Regions from separate parts of the Homo sapiens genome. Here region 1 is linked to region 2. Evidence: promoter capture Hi-C in 16 types of primary human blood cells and fetal thymus (Javierre and others, 2016). All regions are on one chromosome and are shown on one strand. The core of a region is centred on a gene start or on the middle of the fragment in contact, and the rest is flanking DNA. Distances in the headings are between cores, read along the strand shown.

What was found. The method cuts DNA at HindIII sites, captures the fragments that hold promoters and counts their contacts. A CHiCAGO score of 5 or more calls a contact.
Region 1: a contact is called between a fragment that was not itself captured here and the fragment with the promoter of H2BC8 in region 2, in 1 of 17 cell types (monocytes). The highest score is 5.4, in monocytes.

What each region holds. Positions count from the first base shown.
Region 1 is chr6:26,060,610-26,063,960 of GRCh38, forward strand. No RefSeq gene overlaps it. Among named protein-coding and RNA genes, the nearest start is that of H1-2, 5.8 kb to the left of the region's middle. The HindIII fragment of the contact is 1,004 bases long and covers 1,357-2,360 here.
Region 2 is chr6:26,214,638-26,218,221 of GRCh38, forward strand. It overlaps H2BC8 (H2B clustered histone 8), which reads right to left and starts at 2,051. Exons shown (of 1, transcript NM_003518.4): 1 at 1,563-2,051. The coding sequence starts at 2,006. The coding sequence ends at 1,626. H2AC8 (H2A clustered histone 8) reads left to right here and starts at 2,284. Exons shown (of 1, transcript NM_021052.4): 1 at 2,284-2,800. The coding sequence starts at 2,338. The coding sequence ends at 2,730. RefSeq lists enhancers at 1,165-1,294, 1,345-1,434, 1,515-1,864, 1,776-2,427, 2,295-2,714 and 2 more. The HindIII fragment of the contact is 5,797 bases long and covers 1-2,623 here.

The DNA.
Region 1 (3,351 bases), core at 609-3,108, 150 kb before region 2:
TCAAAAAAAAAAGAATGACCTCCAAGGGAAAGTTCAGATTAAGGATGTGGTCGTCCCACCCAAAACTGATGTCCTCAAGAAAGCCACAAACAAATTGAGGACACAGTTAAAATATTGTAATGCAATATATTGTGTATTCTTTTATTTACACACACATCATAAATATTATAGGTTGACTAGTTTTGTTTCATGCCACACTCTTCAGGGTCTGGAAACCCTGGTAGAAAAGTTAAAAATGCAGAGCAAAATGTCAAGTCCAAACAGCAGTAATGGGGCTAGAGAGAGACTCAAACAGCCAAGATATATTCAAAGGATAGTGAGAGGAGTTGTTAGGACAGGTGTAAGGAATGAGGGTGACAGCTGGTTTTTCTTTCACTTTTTCCTTCTACTATGCCAATTAGAGTTCTTTGTTTTTGATAGAGACAGGGGTCTCACTATGTTGCTCAGGCTGGTCTCAAACTCTTGGCACCAAGTGATCCTCCTGCCTCAGCCTCCCAAAGTTTTGAGATTATAGGTGTGAACCACCAAGCCCAGCCTTAGAGTAGGGTTCTGTCATCTTTTGGATGTAGCTAACCTAATATTACTAAATCCTGTATAGGCCAGAACTTTGAATGATTTAAAGCTGTTTTTTCCTGACTCACCAATTAATGAAGCTAATAATAACAGCCACCCCACTGGCAGTGCCTGCCTCAAAGAGTAAGTGTTAGTGTTGCTATCTGCTTGAGACCAACAATACAGGGACTCCAGGATATTTTCAGCCTAAATAAGATTGTAGGGGCTCTTGTCTGTTGCCTGGCTTCAGCCCCATAAACTTTTTTTTAACATATAACCCAGAGCCACAGTTTTGCTCATATTTCAATCTTTGAAGGCAAATGGCCAACAATTAGATTAAACCTGAGGCTAAATATTTCCTCACCTCAAGGGCTGAGACGAAAGTTACTGCATCTGTATTCCCTAACACGCCCTCAAAATGGGTTGCAGAAAACAACAGAAAATATACTAAAGCACACAGTAGGAGCATAATAAATAGTGATTAGCTGGGTGCAGTGGCATGCGCCTGTAGTTCCCGCTACTCTACTCATGAGGCTGAGGCAGGAGGATCACTTTTGCCAAGCAGTTTGAAGTTGCAGAGAGCTATGATCACAACACTTCACTCTAACCTGGGCAACAGAGCAAGACTCTGTCCAGAAAAATAAATACATAAATATAAAATTTAAAAATATAAATAAATACATAGAGAGTATTACAAAAGGAACAATATATTGCAAAATATATTTACCTAACATTTTGAAATTGCCATTATAATTGTATAAGTGACATAGGAAACTGGGTCATTAACAGCTATCTTATTCTTCAAGCTTCTTTCAAATGATGTCAAAGCATTTCAGAAAGTCAAACCTACCCTCAAAGGATAAGAATTTGTCAATTGTGAGGATATGCACATTTTTACACCTTCTCAATCTGTGTCTATATGAAGGCAGTTATAAAGCACAAGATGCAAACGTATATTAGGCAATAGTCTTCATCAGAATAAGTACATAACCTGACACAATGACTATATTGGAAGAAACATGGAAATGCAAATTTCAATAGATTGGTTGACATTATTTTTTAATGTCTAGTTTTTTACTGTGCTGTGTTTTTACACACTTAATGAGCACTTGTTAAGCACAGGACACCAGGAGAAATAATAAAAACTAAGATCAGCCTAGCAGTGTGTCCTCTCAAGAACTTATACCTGGTGGGACAGATACAGACAAATATAACCATCATACAGTGTGAGAAATCGATAGAAAAGACACAGCCACTGAGAGCACAAAAGAATAAAAACATAAAATGTTAATGTGCTGGCTAAACGTTTGCCTTCAAGTATTTACCAGTCTAGCTGGGAAAATAAGACAGAAGACAACAGCCTAAAATAGTGGTTCTTAAACATTTAGATATCAGGACTTCTTTACACTCCTAAAAACTATCAGGCCTCCAAAAAATATTTTGCTAAATATAGGCATTTATCACTTTGGAAAACAAAGCTGAGTATTAATTATTTAATTATTTATATTAATATTTATTTGATAACCTTTAAAATATTATAAAATTAATATTTATTTATAATGCATATATGTGATTATATAGTTCATATGTAGCCATATATTTATCATATATACCATAGATTTATGTTATATATTACATATGTATGAAGAAAAAATGGAAAGTAAACCCAAAAGTTCCCCATTCCCTAACCCATTCAAAACCCTGGAAGTCCCAGGCTAATCTGAAACTTGTAAAACTGCCTGCATGTAGAGAGCACAGCTGAGCTGGTAGTGTGGAAGAGCAGAAAGACAGCAGTTCTGGAGCAAGGAAGCTTTATATTTAATCCCAGTTTCTCCATTCATGAGCTTGGTTACCCTGCCAAGTTCCTTCTCTGTAAAATGGGAATAATACTCCCAGAAATACAGTGAGGATTAAATTAGATAATGTGCATACAGTTCCTGGGATTGGGATCAGCACACAGTAGCCTCTCATTTGAGGCATATTTGCATTAGATCCTTGCTGTATGATATCCTTCTGTTTCTTTCTTTTTTTTTTTTTTCCTTTGGTGACCCTAAGAAAGATGGTACTCTCCTTAACTTGGAGGGCTGGATGCGAAGAGACCAAATCCAACAAGCTGGTTCATTCTTTCTAATTATGTGTGCTTCCCTTAGCTGCCTCTGAAAGGATACAGGCCCTAGGTACTAGCCCCAAGAAGCCTAATGATAAGAGATAGAGCTGGACCACCAGAGAAGAGATGAGTGTGTATGTGTGTGTGTGCAAGCAATTATATGTGTGCATTTAGGAGTGGTAGGTGTGTAAACAGTCTAGAACACTCATTCTCACTGTGATGTGAGGATGTATCCCCACATCACTGTTCTGGGAGCTCACTCCTTGTCCATCATCCAAGCTTATGATGGACAATTCTTTCCCAAGTGGGAAAGAATTCTGATGACACTCACATAACTACCCAGTCCCAACTTTCTGTATCCAAGGTGTGTGCATACCTTTGATAGCAGGCAGGTGTGCCTAGCCAATATATTAGGAGCATGGTATTCCAGCACTCTGCACTTTTTTACTATAGAATTCATCTCAACCTGCTTACATTACATGAAAGTTTTGATTGATATCAAATTTTTATTATGTTTGCTTATCAAAGGATTTGTAATTATGCTTCAGTTGATACATAGATTGTTTATATTTTTCATGGTTACTTGAAGCACTTATATTTTCCTCATACTTTTACAAAGTAATCAAGGAAAAATACAGAGGCAGCTTAGTATATTAGTCAAAAGAATAATTAGACTGTCTTGGAACCTGGAA
Region 2 (3,584 bases), core at 801-3,300:
CTTAAGACCTGCTTCAGAGGAAGGTCATACGAACATTCTTGTCTATGTTGTTCTACTAATGTCTTAGAATATTTACTATGTCAAGGCGCCATACTTTGGAGTACTATGTTGTCAGAAACCTGAGGTTGCTCATGGAGTACTATGGAGTAGTGACCTTTTTTTTTTTTTTGGTCCCATTTTAGAAATTTGATTAATGAGTATAAACTAATGGTTTCTATGTTTGAGACGGAGTTTCGTTCTTGTTGTCCAGGCTGGAATGAAATGGCGGGATCTTGGCTCACTGCAACCCCCGCCTCCCGGTTTCAAGCGTTTCTCCTGCCTCAGTCTCCGAAGTAGCTGGGGTAACATAGGCATGCGCCACCACGCCCGGCTAATTTTGTTATTTTTAGTAGATACGGGGTTTCACCATGTGGGTCAGGCTGTTTTTGAACTCCTGACCTCAAGTGATCCACCAGCCTCGCCTCCCAAAATGCTGGGATTACAGGCGAGAGCCACTGCGCCCAGCCAGCCAAAACTGTAATTTTTTTTTTTTTTTTTTTTTTTTTTTTTTTATGAGATGGAATCTAGCTCTTTCGCCCAGGATGGAGTGCAGTGGCGCGATCTCTGATCACTGCAACCTCCGCCTCCCGGGTTCAAGTGACTCTCCAGCCTCAGCTTCCAGAGTAGCTGAAACTACAGGTGAGTGCCACCACGCCCGGCTAATTTTGTTTGTATTTTTTTAGTAGAGACAGGGTTTCACAGTGTTAGCCAGGATGGTCTCGACCTCCTGACCTCGTGATCCGCCCGTCTCGGCCTCCCAAAGTGATGGGATTAGAGGCGTGAGCCACCGCGCACGGCGGAAAACGAGATTTTTTAGATCAACTTTACATTGCCAATGCCCATGGTATTCCCTCCACAACAAACTCCACAAGAGTGCTCAGAAAAGTCAAACTTGTTATCAGGTGATCTTTAGGGACCCAAAGACTACTCTTCCTACCCTTTCCAGTGTTGCCCAGGCTGGAATTGCACTAGCGTATTCACATGTTCCTGCAGTCTCTAGCCCGAGAGTTTAAGCTATCCTACCACCTCAGCCTACCGAGTAAATGATAGTACAGACGCAAGCCGTCACACCTGGTTAGCTTCATTTTTTTGCAGAGACGAGTTCTATGTTGCCCAGGCAAATCTGTTAACTCCTGAGCTGAAGAAAGCCTCATGCATCGACCTCCCAAAGTGCTAGGATTACAGGATCTTGCCAACACAGAACAGGAGTATCTCCTGATCAATTTTTTTTGAGACGAAGCCTCGCCTTTGTCGCCCAGGCTAGAATGCAAAAGCGCCATGTCTTTTCACTGCAACCTTTGCTTGCTGGGTTTAAGTGATTCTCCTGCGGCAGCCTCCCGAGTCTCTGGGATGACACGCGACTGCCCCACGCCCGGCTAATATTTGTATTTTTAGTAGAAACGAGATTTAACCACGTTAGCCAAACTGGTCTCGATCCGCACGCCTCGGCCTCCCAAAGTGCTGGGATTACAAAATCGGAAAAATTATTCCCTAGAAAACGGTGAAATTCAATATTAAAGCTCTTTATGTGAGACTTGAGTGGCTCTGAAAAGAGCCTTTGAGTTTTAAAGCACCTAAGCACACATTTACTTGGAGCTTGTATACTTGGTGACAGCCTTGGTACCTTCGGACACTGCGTGCTTGGCCAGCTCTCCGGGAAGCAGCAGACGCACGGCGGTCTGGATCTCCCTGGAGGTAATGGTCGAGCGCTTGTTGTAGTGGGCCAGACGGGAAGCCTCGCCTGCGATGCGTTCGAAGATGTCGTTAACGAAGGAATTCATGATGCCCATGGCCTTGGATGAGATGCCAGTATCGGGGTGAACCTGTTTTAGCACCTTGTACACATACACGGAGTAGCTCTCCTTACGACTGCGCTTGCGCTTCTTGCCATCCTTCTTCTGCGCCTTGGTCACAGCCTTCTTGGAACCCTTCTTCGGAGCAGGAGCTGACTTAGCTGGTTCAGGCATGCTGTCAGAAAACAATAACAGCAGTGAGAATGAACGCACTTAAATAAAAGCTCGTGTCTAGAGTCTCTCCTTTTATAGGCCTTTCATGCAAATAAAGAATTCAAAATATCCAGCTCTGATTGGGCAATGTGTTAGTGACGCATACATGTAAAATAGCCTTCACCTTATTTCCTTTCTAATTGGTTGGCTCGTCAAAGAACAATTTTAACCAATCAAATTGCGCCTTTCACAATTCTACCGATGACTATAACTAGCTTCTTATTCCTCCATCGAGCCCATTCTTTTTCTTTATTCAGTGGATTGTTAGTTCTTCTGCTGTTAGGAAGCCACTATGTCTGGACGTGGAAAGCAAGGCGGCAAAGCTCGGGCAAAAGCTAAAACGCGTTCTTCCAGGGCCGGTCTTCAGTTTCCAGTTGGCCGTGTGCACCGCCTCCTCCGCAAAGGCAACTACTCCGAACGAGTCGGGGCCGGCGCTCCAGTGTACCTGGCAGCGGTGCTGGAATATCTGACGGCCGAGATCTTAGAGCTAGCTGGCAACGCGGCTCGCGACAATAAGAAGACCCGCATCATCCCGCGCCACCTGCAGCTAGCCATCCGCAACGACGAGGAGCTAAATAAGCTTCTAGGTCGCGTGACCATCGCGCAGGGCGGTGTCCTGCCCAACATCCAGGCCGTATTGCTGCCTAAGAAGACGGAGAGCCACCATAAGGCCAAGGGCAAGTGAAATGATTACTAGTCAAATCCGTCAGTGATCCCGAGTCCCAGAAACCAAAGGCTCTTTTCAGAGCCACCCACCTTTTCTGTAAAGTGCTGGAATACACATACGATGCCTGAAATCTCAATGTTCACTGTCCTAATTTTTAACGAACGCTTCTGACGTTACTGGTCAGTTCTTTATTGAAATCCTTGCTCACATTTCATGCACTAATTTATCTTACTGGTGTTTCTTTGCAGTAAAAATGCGTTTATAAAGGTATACAAGAATAGAAACCGAGGTTGTGACACCAAGGTTTCACTGCGTTATTTTGTGTATAGGTCCATGCTGTGTATACAAATTTATCATTAATACACAGGCTGTTTATTCATGTGCACTTGTCAGAAAAGGGTGAAATATTAATACAGAAACGAGAGAACAAAGAAGGATAGCTGCCCATTAGCATTTCAGGGCGGGCTTTTTAAGTTTTAAAGATGACTGCATTCCGGCTGGGCTCAGTGGCTCATGCCTGTAATCCCAACACTTTGGGAGGCCAAGGAGGGCGGATCATAGGGTCAGGAGTTCGAAATCAGCCTGCCCAACATAATGAAAGCCCGTCTCTACTAAACAAATACAAAAAGTAGCCGGGCGTGGTGGTGTGCATCTGTAGTCCCAGCAACTTGGGAGGCTGAGGCAGGAGAATCGCTTGACTCCGGGAGGCAGAGGCTGCAGTGAGCCGAGATCACGCTATTGCACTCCAGCCTGGGTAACAGAGCAAGACTACGTCTCAAAAAAAAAAAAAAAAAAAAAGACTACATTCCTCTAGTGAGAATTGTGTTTGTTGGATTTCTCTTTTCAAAAGGAGCAATTAACACAGTATTCTA